Linked DNA regions of Homo sapiens: all the other regions are linked to region 1. Evidence: promoter capture Hi-C in human tissues and cell types (Jung and others, 2019). All regions are on one chromosome and are shown on one strand. Each heading gives the region's core, a stretch centred on a gene start or on the middle of the fragment in contact. The rest is flanking DNA. Distances are from core to core; before and after follow the strand shown.

Region 1 (3,552 bases), core at 327-2,826:
AGCCTAAAGCCCATCCTCCTTCCCTTTCCCTGGACTGACCACTCACTGCCACTATCTCCAGGATACCTCGTGGGCTGCCTCTCGCCCCCTCCCTGCTGCTGGTCTCCAGCCATGCCTGGCCCCTGAAGGCGCTGGGACCTTGAGGTGTGGCCAGCACTGCTGTGGGCATTCTACAGGCACTCAGTGCATCTCAAGAGCCATTGAAAAAGTCAGCACCCCGCTGATCCCCAGTGTACAGAGAAGGAAAGTTTATTTATTATTATTATTATTGAGATAGAGTCTTGCTCTGCCACACAGGCTGGAATGCAGTGCTGCAATCTCGGCTCACTGCAACCTCTGCCTCCTGGGTTCAAGCGATCCTCCCACCTCAGCTCCTAAGTAGCTGGGAGTACAGGTGCCCATCATCAAGCCTGGCTAATTTTTGCATTTTTAGTAGAGATGGGGTTTCACCATGTTAGCCAGGCTGGTCTCGAACTCCTGACCTCAAGTGATCCACCCATCTTGGCCTCCCATAGTGCTGGATTTTCAGGAGTGAGTCACCGTGCAGGGCCTGAGATTATTAAAAGTATATGGGAAGGCTGGGCATGGTGGCTCATGCCTGTAATCTGAGCACTTTGGGAGGCCAAGGTGAGTGGATCATTTGAGCCCAGGAGTTCGAGACCAGCCTGGGCAACACAGCGAGACGCTGTCTCTGTAAAAAGTATACACCAAAAAAATTAACCAGGCATGGTAGTGTGCACCTGCAGTCCCAGCTACTCAAGGGGCTAAGGCAGGAGGATCACTTGAGCCCAGGTGGTCAAGGCTGCAATGAGTTATGATTAGGCCACTGCACTCCAGCCTGGGACACAGAGTGAGACCCTACCTCAGTAAATAAATAAATAAATAAATAAATAAATAAATAAATAAATAAATAAGTAAAGTATACGGAAGGATGTGCATAGGTTATATGCAAATACTTTACCATTTTATATCAGGAACTTGAGCATCTTTGGATTTTGGTATCTGCAGAGGGTCCTGGAACCATTGCCCCGTAAATATGGAAATGACTGTATACATTATATTATGTATGTCTATCTATTGTAAACTACATACATAAGATACTATACTATGTATACCTATTAGATACATACTTGCTTTTTATTCCTTCCTTAGTTTTTTTTCTCATTGAACTCCGGGAGGTGGAAAAAATTTAGTGCATTTCACAGAAGAGAAAATCTAGACCAGAGGAAAGATGTCTAAGTTCGATCCCAGAAGCCATGACTGCCCATCTCCCATTTGACAGCAGGAAAGACTGAGGCACAGAGAGATGAAACCAACCCACACAGCAGGCCCACAGCTCTCCACACATACACGTGCCTCCACCCAGCAAGAGGAGCCGCCATGCCAGGGTCAGGGGACTCACCGCCCTGCCTGGACAGCAGGAAGAGGAAGAGGAGGGGGACCACCCAGGTCACCAGCGGCTCCATCGGATCCACGTAGAGCCCCACAGCCCCAGGGGAGCCTCTCTGCCACCTGCGAGGTTCAGCCACCCCGTCCCCACTCCGGAACACATTGAAGCTGAGCAAGGAGAAAAGACTGAAAAAAAAGAAAAAAGAAAAAAAGTAAAGTGTCACAGCCCATCCCTAAGGCAAGTCAAAGTGAAAGAGAAACCCAGGAAGTCAGCTCCGTGGTGGTGGTGATGGTGGCGGCCACAGACTCTGGAGCAAGTCTGACTTTGGAGCAAGTCAGGGTTCTAGGGGGTTCTGCCCTGCTGGCCCCAGACCTGAACTGAACACCCAGATGCCAGCCCCATGGGCCCATGGGCCACCTGTGGTTCCATGCACTTGGCCAGGTCTCTGGCCCTCTCTAGCCAATTTTTTTTTTTTTTTTTGAGATGGAGCCCTGCTCTGTCGCCCGGGCTGGAGTGTGGTGGCATGATCTCCACTCACTGCAACTTCTGCCTCCCGGGTTCAAGCAATTCTCCTGCCTCAGCCTCCCGAGTAGCTGGAATTACAGGCAACTGCCACAACATCGAGCTAATTTTTGTATTTTTAGTAGAGACAGGGTTTCACCATGCTGGCCAGGCTGGTCTCGAACTCCTAACCCTAAGTGATCCACCCACCTCAGCCTCCCAAAGTGCTGGGATGACAGGCGTGAGCTACCGTGCCTGGCTGCCAAATTCTTTTTTTCTTCTTTTGAGATAGGGTCTTGATCTGTGGCCCAGCTGTAGTGCAGTGGTGCAATCACGGCTCACTGCAACATCAACCTCCCCAGGCTCAGGCCATCCTCCTACCTCAGCCTCCCCAGGAACTGGGACTACAGGCATGCACCACCACGCCCAGCTAATTTTTGCATTTTTTTTTTTTTAAGAGAGGGGGTTTTGCCATGTTGCCCAGGCTGGTCTCAAACTCCCGGGTTCAAATGATCCGTCCGCCTTGGCCTACCAAAATTCTGGGATCACAGGCGTGAGCCACCGCACCGGGCCATCTCGCCAGCTTCTGAATCTGAGACTCAAGAGCTGAAGGAGGGCAGTGTTCTTGGATGGCCTAATTTCATCCTTCCAACAAATTGTTACAAAGAGCTTGCAGCATGCTGGCCCTCCACAATGCCCACCTCCCCACATGCCAAGCTCCAGCCTTGTGCACCTGGGCTCACCCCTCTAATCCCAGCACTTTGAGAGGTCGAGGTGGGAGGATCACTTGACCCCAGGAGTTTGGGTCTACCTAAACAACATAGCAAGACCCCATCTCTATAAAAAATAAAGAATTAGGCCAGGCGCGGTGGCTCACGCCTGTAATCCCAGTACTTTGGGAGGCCAAGGCAGGTGGATCACGAGGTCAGGAGTTTGAGACCAGCCTGACCAAAATGGTGAAACCCTGTCTCTACTGAAAATACAAAAATTAACCGGGTGTGGTGGCAGGCACCTGTAATCCCAGCTACTGAGGAGGCTGAGGCAGGAGAATCGCTTGAACCCAGGAGGTGGAGGTTGCAGTGAGCCGAGATCGCGCCACTGCACTCCAGCCTGGGCAACAGAGTGACACTCCATCTCAAAATATATATATATATATAAATTAAAAGTTAGCCAGTCGTGGTGGCACACATCTGTATTCTCAGCTACTCAGGAGGCTGAGGTGGGAGAATGGCTTGAACCCAGGAGGTTGAGGCTGCAGTGAATCGTGATTGTGCCACTGCACTCCAGTCTGGGTAACAGAGCAAGATCCTGTCTCTTAAAAAAAAAAAAAAAAAAATTTAAGAGATGCAACTTAGTCTTTCCCCCATGTTCCATTTCTTAGCCTCTGAGTATTTTGTTTCCTGCCCCTCCCTCCCCACTGTCGGCAAAGCCTCTAAATGTCAGTGGAGAAGCTCTGATCCAAGCTACCATGTGGATGAACCCTCAAAAACATAATGCTGGGCTGGGTGCAGTGGTTCACATCTGTAATTCCAACACTTTGGGAGGCCGAGGTGGGCGGATCACCTGAGGTCAGGAGTTTGAGACCAGCCTGGCCAACAAGGCGAAACCCTGTCTCTACTAAAAATACAAAAATTTGCCAGGCCTGGTGACATGTGCCTGTA
Region 2 (3,552 bases), core at 764-3,263, 250 kb after region 1:
TTAGCCGGGCATGGCAGCACGCGCCTGTAGTCCCAGCTACTCGGGAGGCTGAGGTGGAAGAATTGCTTTAGCCTTGGAGATTAAGGCTGCAGTGAGCTGTGATCGCTCCATTGCTCTCCAGCCTGGGCAAAAGAACAAGATCCTGTCTAAAAAAAAAAAAAAAAAAAAAATTCGTGACCCAAGTCCAAGGTCCAGTCCTGTTTCTGAAGATGTGGCCAGAAACTCAGCTTTCATTTTCTACCTGTTTTTAGAGGAATTCTGGTCTCTGATGAATGTTGGCAGAATGTGCCTGGGGATGTGCTGGGTGTTGAGACGCAGCTCTAACAGAACAACGCTTCCTCCTCTAGAAGTTCTCATCTCTATGTCGGAGGAAACGGGAAGCCAACCAGAGAGGCTGTGACCATACTAAATGATTTCTGCTTAATAATACCTGGGGAGGGGGCCGGAGGCAGTGGTTCACGCCTGTAATCCCAGCACTTTGGGAGCTGAAAAGGGTGGATCACCTGAAGTCAGGAGTTCGAGACCAGCCTGGCCAACATGGTGAACCTCCCTCTCTACTAAAAATACAAAATTAGCTGGGTATGGCGGCACTCGCCTGTAATCCCAGCTACTTGGGAGGCTGAGGTGGGAGAATTGCTTGAACCCGGGAGGCAGAGGTTGCAGTGAGCCAAGATCACACCACTGCACTCCAGCCTGGGTGACAAGAGTGAAACTACGTCTCAAATAAATAAATACATATATAATTTCTGCTTAATAATACCTGGGGGACTAAATAATCTGTACAACAAACCCCATGACACGAGTTTATCTATATAACAAACCTGCACATGTACCCCAAAACTTAAAAGCTAAAAAAAATTAAAAATGATTTCTGGCCAGGTGTGCTGGTTTACACCTGTAATCCCAGCACTTTTGGGAGGCCAAGGTGTGCGGATTGCTTGAGCTCGGGAGTTCGAGACCAGCCTGTGCAACACTATGAAACCCCCATCTCTACAAAAATACAAAAATTAGCTGGGTGTGGTGCCACACACCTGTAGTCCCAGCTACTCAGGAGGCTGAGATGTGAGGATCAGTTGAGCCCTGGAGGTCAAAGTTACAGAGCTATGATTTTGCCACTGCACTCCAGCCTGGGTAACAGAGTGAGACCCTGTCTCCAAAAAAAAGAGAGAGAAAGGAAATTATTTCTGAGCTTTATTGCTATGAAGAGGATGGAACCAGGGAATGAGATGGAACCACTGGGGGGTAGCAGTGAGGTCATTTCAGCCAAGGAGGGCCAGAAGGAACCCTCAGAGGAGGTAATAGGATAGCAGGGAGGTGATAGCCAGAGAAGGCCACAAGGAGAAAGTGACAGTTCACCCCTCGGAGGAGGTGACAGCCAGGACAGGAGGAGGGCCCCTGGGAGGAGGCGACATTGGAACACTGGAGCTGAGGCCTGAAGGAGGCCAGCTTCGCAGGTACCTGCGGGGTGTGTTCCGGCAGAGGGAACAGCAGGTACAATCGCCCTCCCCCATTAGCCTCCTAGGACCATGGGGGCCTGCAGAGAAACTTCTGGCACCACACAAATATGGTTGTCGTGTTTTTCCTTTTTTACTCTGTCCTCCCCCACCCCCGCCAACTTCCTGGCCTGAATGCTGCTCCTGTGACCCCTTGAGGCGAGTGACCTCGGGGAAGTGGCATTCTGTGCCTCAGTTTCCTTATCTGGAAAACGGGCCTTGCTCGCGGGGACTTCCCTCCCTAATTCTGCGCAGTATGCATGCATAGGGCAGGCCCTCAATGAACCCTTGCAGAATAAAGGACCGGCTCATCCCCAGCACCTGGCTCAGTGCGTGCAAGCGGCTACACACTACGGCATAAGATGTTCCCATTTTGCAGACGGGGAAACGGAGGCTGGGGAATACCGGGCCTAGCCGACGGGGGCGGGGCGCAGGGCGCGCACGCTGCGTCTCGGGCCCGGGGGCGCGCACGCCGAGCGGCTGACCGGGGGCGAGGCCGGGGGCTTGACAGGGGCGTGGCCTCGCGCGGCCGAGAGGCTGCAGCGGCAGCAGCTGTCGCGCCAGTCGCAACAGAAGCAGGTCCGAGGCACAGCCCGATCCCGCCATGGAGCAGCCGAGGAAGGCGGTGGTAGTGACGGGTACGCTGGCTGATGGGGGCTGTAGCGGCAGCGGCCGGGGGCAGAGGCGGGGGCGGCTCCGGGACTGCGGGGCCGAGAGGGGCAGGTGCTGGAAGTCCTCTCAGATTTGGAAGGTGTCATCACCCGCGGGAGCCCCGCGCAGCCCAGGCTTCCTGGAAAGTGGAGGAGGAGGAGCCTTGGGGGTCCCAGGGTCGGGAGTCAGGGCAGTCGGGCGCGGGGCTTGGGGGGCCGGGCAAAAGCCCGGCGCTGCGCAGGCCCCCCTGGCGTCCTTTCCTCCCAAGGTGGGGATGGTGACCCTCCTGGCACCTGCCTCCTCTGTCTGGCCTGCGGGCTGGACTGGACCCTTCCTCCCTGCCCCTTCCGAGGTCCAGCCTGTCCCCACACCGCTCCCCCAACCCCTGGCCCCAGGGGACAAAGGCCGATTTGCGGGCAGGAAGTGTCCCAGTGACAAATGAACCTCCCAGTCACTGCTCGCCGCGCCCTGCGCTCCTGGGGGGCTACTCTCCCAAGGCAGGGGCAGGTGGGGGTCCGGGGACCTCGGGCTCTCCCAGCTGTCCCAGGGACTGTCTTCAGCGGAAACCTTTTTGTGTTTTGTGCCAGGGCTGTTTGTTGGTGAGTCAGGGCCCCTGCTGTCACCGACTCCCCCCCACCCCCAAACCAACTGTTTCTCCTCCCTGAGACTCCGCCTCGGGGCCACGTGGGGCGCCAACTTCCGCTGGGGCCTCAGAGTCAAGGAGTGGGGGGGTCATTTTGACCTGCTGTCTGGAGGGGTCAGAGTGGGAAATCCAGCAAAGGTGCACACAGGTGTTTTGTGGCTGTTGAAGGGAGATTGAGGCTGATCCAGGAGATTCAGGGAAGAAGGAAGAAACAAGGCACCTGCTTAACAGGTGTGTATAATTGGGAGGAGGGTCACTGCCCCCATCCCTTCCAGCCTTCCTTTATCTGGTTATTTATTCCAGCACTTTTTGCATGAGCTGATTACATCTTTACTGTCTCCATTTTGCAGAAAGGGAAACTGAGGCTCACAGAGGTCATCCAGTTTGTAAGGGGCTGAGCTGAGACTCAAACTTTGGCTGTACAGAAGGATAGAGTTAGGAGGTCCCCTCCTGAGCCACAGCCCCTACCTGCTATCCCAGGCTACAGCATCTCTGCATAGCATTCATATCCTGTGGGATCACTGGCCCAGATGGACCGTATTTTTTTTTTTTTGAGACGGAGTTTTGCTCTTGTTGCCCAAGCTGGAGCACAACGGCGCGATCTCGGCTCACTGCAACCTTCGCCTCCTGGGTTCAAGCGATTCTCCTGCCTCAGCCTCCTGAGTAGCTGGAATTACGGGCACGCATCACCCCATCTGGTTAATTTTTTGTATTTTTAGTAGAAACGGGGTTTCACCATGTTGGCCAGGCTGGTCTCAAACTTCT
Region 3 (3,552 bases), core at 345-2,844, 240 kb before region 1:
GAACCTTACCAAAGGGACACTTTGATGTCACCGATGCCCAGACCAAGAATGAGCACATTCCTAGTCCCGGGAACCTTGGAGGAGCCCCATCTCTCCCACAGAGAGATTGATGTCTAGTTTTGCCCTTTATAGAAATAAAATCACACACCATAGCCTCTCTATCGTCCCCTCAACATCAGCCAATCAAGTTTTTTGGTTTGTTTGTTTGTTTTTTTGAGACGGAGTCTCGCACTGTCACCCAGGCTGGAGTGCAGTCGCACGATCTTGGCTCACTGTAGCCTCTGCCTCCTGGGTTCAAGCGATTCTCATGCCTCAGCTTCCCAAGTGGCTGGGATTACAGGCGCGCACCACAGCGCCCAGCTAATTTTTGTATTTTTAGTAGAGACGGAGTTTCACCATGTTGGCCAGGCTGGTCTCAAACTCCTGGCCTCAGGTGATTCGCCTGCCTTGGCCTCCCAAAGTGCTGTGATTACACACGTGAGCCACATTGCCCAGCCTTTTTATTTATTTATTTATTTTGTAGGGGGGAGGACGGATTCTTGTTCTGTCTCCCAGGCTGGAGTGCAGTGGCATGATCTCGGCTCACTGCAAACTCCACCTCCCAGGTTCAAGCGATTCTCCTGCCTCAGCCTCCTGAGTAGCTGGAATTACAGGCACCCGCCACCAAACCTGGCTAATTTTTGTGTTTTTAGTAGAGATAGGGTTTCACCATGTTGACCAGGCTGATCTCGAACTCCTGACCTCCAGTGATCCGCTGGCCTCAGCCTCCCAAAGTGTTGGGATTAAAGGCATGAGCCACTGTGCCCAGCCCCAGTCGAGTTTAAAATAAGGCTTCAGTGGCAGTGGCGCCCCACTGCAATCCCAGCTACTCAGGGGGCTGAGGCAGCAGGATAGCTTGAGGCCAGGGGTTAGAGACCTGCCTGAACAACATAGCAAGACTCCCATCTCCAAAACAACAAAAAAATCTTAACAGAATATTATTATTCTGTAATACTGTAACAAAAAAAAATGAAAAGTCAGAGGTGATGTTTGGTCCCAGAAAACGCCATAGTTTTTTTGGTTTTTTAAAAATGTTTGTAGAAATGGAGGTCTGGCTATGTTGCCCAGGCTGGCCTTGAACTCCTGGCCTCAAGCTATCCTCCCGCCTCGGCATCCCCTGTTTATAATCCTCAACGTTCTGCATCCTGGTATGGTCGGGTACCCTGTGTCTGGACCGGGAAGGCCTGGAGGGTAGGGGCTGGGAACTCCGCCCCCCAATCCCTCCTTCCCAATCCCTCCTCCCCACCCCCAACCCCGCAGCCCCCGTCGCGCATGCGCAATGACTCCTCCAGGTCCGCAAGGCAGGCATCTCCCGGCCTTAGTCAAAGCCGAAGCCCAGAGAAGCGAGCGATCGGAGGATGCGAGTCTCGGCTCACGTCTGCCTCGCAGCTTTCCTCCGAGGCCTGGAAGGCGAGCTAGCCTTTGCCCTGGCAGCACCCTGCCCCAGCCCAGCCATCCCCCGCCACCACCATCCTCCCCCAGTGTCTGGGCCGAGCCCTGCGGCATCGCCAGCTCTTACCTAGCGGGCAGGGACCCTGGACTTTCGAAGGGCGGGCAGAGCCGGGAGGCAGCGAGAGGAAAGTCCCACTCGGCTCCTTCCTGTGTGGGCCCCTTGGTTTCCTGAGCCACTGTCATTTACCGAAAGTCAGGGCCCTGCGGGAGCTGGGGGCGGGGAGGCGGGCAAGGAGGGGCAGAAAGTTCCGGAAGCCTCTGCATCAGCCGCCCCGTTCAGACAGGCTGCTGGAGACCCCTAAGCCAAAGGAACTGATGATAGCACAGAGAAGGGTCTGGGTCACACCAGGGGCTCAGCCGACTCTAGACCCACTTGTTAAGTGGGGCTCTGGCCCGGCCCTTATTGCCTCAGTTTACCCATCTGTAGCATGTGTGAGTTGGGCACCCAGTGGAACTAATTTTGCACCCAGGGAAGGAAACCTGGCTGGATTTGCCCAGGAGGGAAGCAGGGAAGTTGCCCCAGAGGAAGGTCAAGTTCTTCTTTGAGGTATTTCTCCCTTAAGACTCAGGGAGACGCTGGGCGCAGTGGCTCACGCCTGTCATCCCAGCACTTTGGGAGACTGAGGCGGGCGATTACTTGAGGTCAGGAGTTTGAGACCAGCCTAGCCAACATGGCGAAACTCCGTCTCTACTAAAAATACAAAAATTAGCCAGGCGTGGTGGCCTGTAATCGCAGCACTTTGGGAGGCTGAGGCGGGCGGATCACTTGAAGTCAGGAGTTTGAGACCAGCCTGGCCAACATGATGAAACCCTGTCTCTACTAAAAACAGGAAAATTAGCCAGGCCTGGTGATGCCTGTAATCCTAGCTACTCAGGAGGCTGAGGTGGGAGGATTGCTTGAATCTAGGAGGCGGATGTTACAGTGAGACGAGATGGCGCCACTGCACTCCAGCCTGGCAACAGAGCGGGACTTCGTTTAAAAAAAAAAGAAAAGACTCAGGGAGAGATAATGACCCATTTCTGCCTGTGGTGCCCTGGGCCCAGCCCTAAAAAACCAGGTGGATCCGGCCTGGCCTCTTGGAACTTGTGATCTGGCGCTGAGACAATGAGCAAATGAAGGAGCCAAATCATCGCAGACAACAAAGAAAGCCAGGGTGTCAGGACAGGCACAGACTGGAACTTGGACCCGAGGCAGGACAGGGAGCTGGCCAGGGAAAGGGTGCTCCAGGAGGAGGGCACAGGATGGGCAAAGACCTTGAGAGGGCAGTGATCTTAGCAGCTTGAAGAGCAGTCAGGAGGCCAGGGGCAGGGGTGAGATGAGGGGGAAGGGGACTGCAGGGCGGTCAACAGGGGCAAGATCGTGGGGGGACAGGGGGATCAGGGTCTTTGGGAGAAGGGTGGGTTTTGCCTGGAGCATAATCTGGAGCCACAGGAGAGTTGGAAGTAGGAGCTGTTATAAATAGAAGAGGCAGAAGGCCCGGGCAGCATCCAAATGCAGAGACTTGGGCCAGTGTTCTTAGGATAATAGGATCAGAGCCCCGGAAGTAGAGCTTCAGGAATAGACTGACGAAGTGGTGACCGGGTACAGTGGCTCACATCTGTAATTCCAGCACTTTGGAAGGCCCAGGTGGGAAGATTGCTTGAGCCTAGGAGTTCGAGACCAGCCTGGCCAACATGGTGAAACCCCATCTCTACTAAAAATATAAAAATTAGCTGGGCGTGGTGGCATGTGCCTGTAATCCCAGCTACTTGGGAGGCTGAGGCAGGAGAATCACTGGAACCCAGGAGGCAGGCGGAGGTTGTAGTGAGCTGAGATTGTGCCACCGCACTCCAGCCTGGGCGACGGAGCAATACTCTGTCTCAAAAAAAAAAAAAGGAATAGATTTAAGAAGTTGTGGCCAAGAACAGTGGCTCACACCTGTAATCTCAGCACTTTGGGAGGCTCAGGCAGGAGGATGGCTTGAGCCCAGGTGTTCGAGACCAGCCTGGGCAACATGGTGAAACCCTGTCTCTACAAAAAATACAACAACAACAAAATAATAAGCTGGATGTGGTGGCATG
Region 4 (3,552 bases), core at 563-3,062, 220 kb before region 1:
AGGATGGGGTGTTAAGAGGCTTCCAACCCCCTCAACATGCCTCCCTTCCTCACAGGACTCCAAGATCAAGTTCCCGCTGCCCCACCGGGTCCTGCGCCGTCAGCACAAGCCACGCTTCACCACCAAGAGGCCCAACACCTTCTTCTAGGTGCAGGGCCCTCGTCCGGGTGTGCCCCAAATAAACTCAGGAACGCCCCGGTGCTCGCCGCATGTTTTCTTTGCACACTGCAGAGCTCAAAGGGGTGCTATGAGAGGCCGGCCCAGTCAGCTCCTGGGGTGCAGCTGAGCTGCCATTTCTTTGTCCTGGGAGGGGTCTTCAGTGCAAACAAACAAACCCTCACATCCTCCTGTCCTGGAGTGGGCCCTCCAGGCGCCCCCACCCCTGAGCTCCCTCTTGCTTGGTCAGTTCTCAGCCCTGCTGGCAGCCCTGGGCTATGAGCTGCAGGGGTACTGTCTGTCCTGGGCCCTAAATCTGTCCCAACTGCCTTGTGAGACACAGGCCTCCCAGGCTCCCCTGCTGAGTCTGGACCAGGGAGAATCTCCCTAGATAGTGGGGTTGGCGTTCACTCCCTGGGGATTCTCCTAAGTCTCTGGTTCCCAAAGTTTTCAGAGTAGACACAAGTGGGCACCCGAGGGGCGCTCTCTGCTGCTTGGGGGCTGTTTCCCTTTCACTGGTTGGGGGCCTCTTAGATGACGCCCTCATCTTGCCCAAGGAGGTCAAGGACTCACCACAGGTACTCATCTCTGGGAAACTGCCTCAGGCCTGGAAAATTCCAGGCATGACACTAATCCCACCCTGGCTGAGTCCTTCTGTCAGGTGGAGGCTAAGCTGGCATTGGAGAAGTTTGAGACACAGCCAAGAGCTCAGGCTCTGGGAGCCTCCCATCCTTTGTTGCGTGACCTTGGGCAGCCCTGTTCTGGGCCAGCGGCCCTTCTGGGGCTTGCTGTCTTGATCTCAACATCGGGTTCCACATTGATGTGGGAAGTGACGCTGTGCAGGTGCTGGGGTCAGCCTATGGGGCCCTCCTTTGTCCCAGAGAGCCCAGGACCAGGAGGAAGCCAGGACTAGGTAGTAGTTACGGCTTTTTGAAACAGGGTCTTGCTCTGTCGCCCTGGCTAGAGTGCAGTGGAGAGATCGTGGCTTACTGTAGCCTCGACCTCCTGGGCTCAAGTGGTCCTCCTGCCTCAGCCTCCCAAGTAGCTGGGACTACAGGGGCACCACCACACTCAGGGCAAGGACACAGCCTTTCCTCTACCTGTGGAGGAGCTGTGTGGTTTCCAGGAAACCAGGCCTTTTCCAGCCTCACCTGTGGGGTGTTGTAACACCCAGGAACTTGGAGAGGCGCCCAGAACCTGGGCAGGGTCAGCACACAAGCACCCATTCTGCGTAAGACCCAGGCCTGAGGACAGCCCTGTAGACCACAGAACCCCACGGGTCCCGTCCCCAACAACTGGCTCCTTCCCACCCTAGGGCCTTCGCACTTGCCTGGAATACTACAGATTCCCCCAGGCTGGCCTCACTCGAGTTTTACAAACTGCACGTGGGTTCCCGGGACTGGGCTATATTTGATTTCTATCCCCCACTAGTTCTGAGAGGGCAGGGGCTGTGTGTGTCACCCAGTGTATCCAGGAGGGGCTCAACTTTCCATGGTATCCTTTTTGTTTCGTGAAAGCTCTTTACATATGCGGGGCAAAAGCTTGAGAAGAGTCATACATTTTCCCAGGATATCTTTCTTTTTTTGAGACGGAGTCGCGCTTGGTTGCCCATGCTGGAGTGCAGTGGCACAGTCTCAGCTCACTGCAACCTCTGCCTCCCAGGTTCAAGGGATTCTCCTGCCTCAGCCTCCAGAGTAGCTAGAATTACAGGTGCCTGCCACCACGCCTGGCAAATTTTTTGTATTTTTAGTACAGACGGGGTTTCACCATGTGGGCCGGGCTAGTCTGGAACTCGACCTCATGCCACCTGCTTTGGCCTCCCAAAGTGCTGGGATTACAGGTGTGAGCCACCCCGCCTAGCCCAGGATATCTTTTGATGTTCCTTAGAGTATATTGGATGGGGGGTGCTAGCTGGAAATCTTAAAATTTTGCCTGAATTTCATTCATCTTGTGGTTTCTAGTACAAACTCTCCTTTCTCCATAAGGGAATCTTCATACTTAAGTGCCACCCAGAAAAGAAAATACATTTCCTAACCTCCATAGCTATGGCCAGGTGTGGCTCATGGCTGTCATCTCAGCACTTTGGGAGGCTGAGGTAGGAGGATCACTTGAGGCCAGGAGTTTGAGACCAGACTGGTAGACATAGTGAGACCCTGTCTTTACCAAGTAACATTAGCTGGGTGTTGCGGTGCACACCTGTAGTCCCAGCTACACGGGGGCCTGAGGTGTGAGAATCACTTGAGCCTGGAGGTTGAGGCTGCAGTGAACCATGATCATGCCACTGTACTCCAGCCTGGAAACAAGACGAGACCAAACAAAACAAAAATACAGTACTGATGTGCCATTTCTGAGAAAGAACGCCTCTGGCTGGTGTGGACATGATGGCCAGTGCTGCAGCAGTCATTTTGGACTATGAAGAAGCAACACACAGGAGCAGTGAGGGAGAAGGATCTCCGGTACTTGACCCTGTGCAGTGCTGCCCCCGTCCCTGAGGCTTGACCCTTCTACCCCCTTGATTAGAACACGGGGAGGAGACATGAGTCCTGCTTAGGCTGTAATGGAGCTGCTCTGTTAGATGTGACCTTACCTTACCTTGAGCTGGGCCTGAAGCAGGGCGTGGCACTGTGGACTCAGGCCGTAACTGCCTGGAAGTCCCTGCCCTCTCTGAGCCATTTCTTCCTGTATAAAGTGAGGGCGGTGATCCCTCCAGGCTGCAGGGCAGGCGAGGTGATATTAGGTGAGTTGGAGGATGAGAGATCAGGAGAGTGGAAGGCTCACGGCCCCACCAAAGCCCACTGCATACCCTCATCTCCACCTCAGTCCCCTCCCTGTGCCTTGGAGCCCCTCCAGGGCTTCAACCACGTGGCAGCAGCCTGGGAACCACTTGGGAGAGCTCTGCCCCAACCAGCTGAGACATGGAGGCCAATCCCATTATTGAGGGGCCATTGACAGGATGAATGTGCTCCCAGATCACTAGCCTGCACCTATTCACCTACCTTGGCACACTCAGCCTCTCATAAATGTGCCCAGAAGCCCCTCTACCACCGAATTCCCCCACCCCCTGCCAAACCCCATCCTTCCATTCAGTCAGATTCCTCCACCATCCAACCAGCTACCTGTCCATCCATTCGTCCACTCAATCCACCCACCCCATCCATTCATCCTTCCACTCATCCACCTACCCATCCATCCATCCACCCAACCATCCAGCCATCCATCCAGCTATCCACCCACCCACCCATCCATCAACTCACCCATCCATCCATCCACCCATCTATCCATCCATCCATCTACCCACCCACCCATCCACCCACCTGCCCATCAACCCACCCACCCATCTATCCATCCATCCATCCATTCACCCATTCAACCACCCACCAGTCGATACATACATCC

The links. The method cuts DNA at HindIII sites, captures the fragments that hold promoters and counts their contacts. A contact is called where the count stands out against the background at its distance.
Region 2: a contact is called between the fragment with the promoter of PGPEP1 here and the fragment with the promoter of IL12RB1 in region 1, in 6 of the 25 tissues and cell types used here (H1 embryonic stem cells, heart right ventricle, liver and 3 more).
Region 3: the fragment with the promoter of JAK3 here is called in contact with the fragment with the promoter of IL12RB1 in region 1 in 3 of the 25 tissues and cell types used here (dorsolateral prefrontal cortex, lymphoblastoid cells and spleen).
Region 4: a contact is called between a fragment that was not itself captured here and the fragment with the promoter of IL12RB1 in region 1, in 4 of the 25 tissues and cell types used here (dorsolateral prefrontal cortex, lymphoblastoid cells, neural progenitor cells and 1 more).

Annotation. Positions count from the first base shown.
Region 1 is chr19:18,085,358-18,088,909 of GRCh38, forward strand. IL12RB1 (interleukin 12 receptor subunit beta 1) reads right to left here and starts at 1,577. Exons shown (of 17, transcript NM_005535.3): 1 at 1,403-1,577. The coding sequence starts at 1,466. RefSeq lists enhancers at 1,489-1,838, 1,849-1,908. The HindIII fragment of the contact is 62,137 bases long and covers 1-3,552 here.
Region 2 is chr19:18,338,585-18,342,136 of GRCh38, forward strand. It overlaps PGPEP1 (pyroglutamyl-peptidase I), which reads left to right and starts at 2,014. Exons shown (of 5, transcript NM_017712.4): 1 at 2,014-2,131. The coding sequence starts at 2,098. RefSeq lists a silencer at 1,863-2,052 and an enhancer at 1,884-2,571. The HindIII fragment of the contact is 61,917 bases long and covers 1-3,552 here.
Region 3 is chr19:17,846,388-17,849,939 of GRCh38, forward strand. JAK3 (Janus kinase 3) reads right to left here and starts at 1,595. Exons shown (of 24, transcript NM_000215.4): 1 at 1,559-1,595. The HindIII fragment of the contact is 13,300 bases long and covers 1-3,552 here.
Region 4 is chr19:17,863,116-17,866,667 of GRCh38, forward strand. It overlaps RPL18A (ribosomal protein L18a), which reads left to right. Exons shown (of 5, transcript NM_000980.4): 5 at 56-204. The coding sequence ends at 148. Among named protein-coding and RNA genes, the nearest start is that of SNORA68, 2.3 kb to the left of the region's middle. RefSeq lists enhancers at 1-21, 1,761-1,900. The HindIII fragment of the contact is 9,841 bases long and covers 1-3,552 here.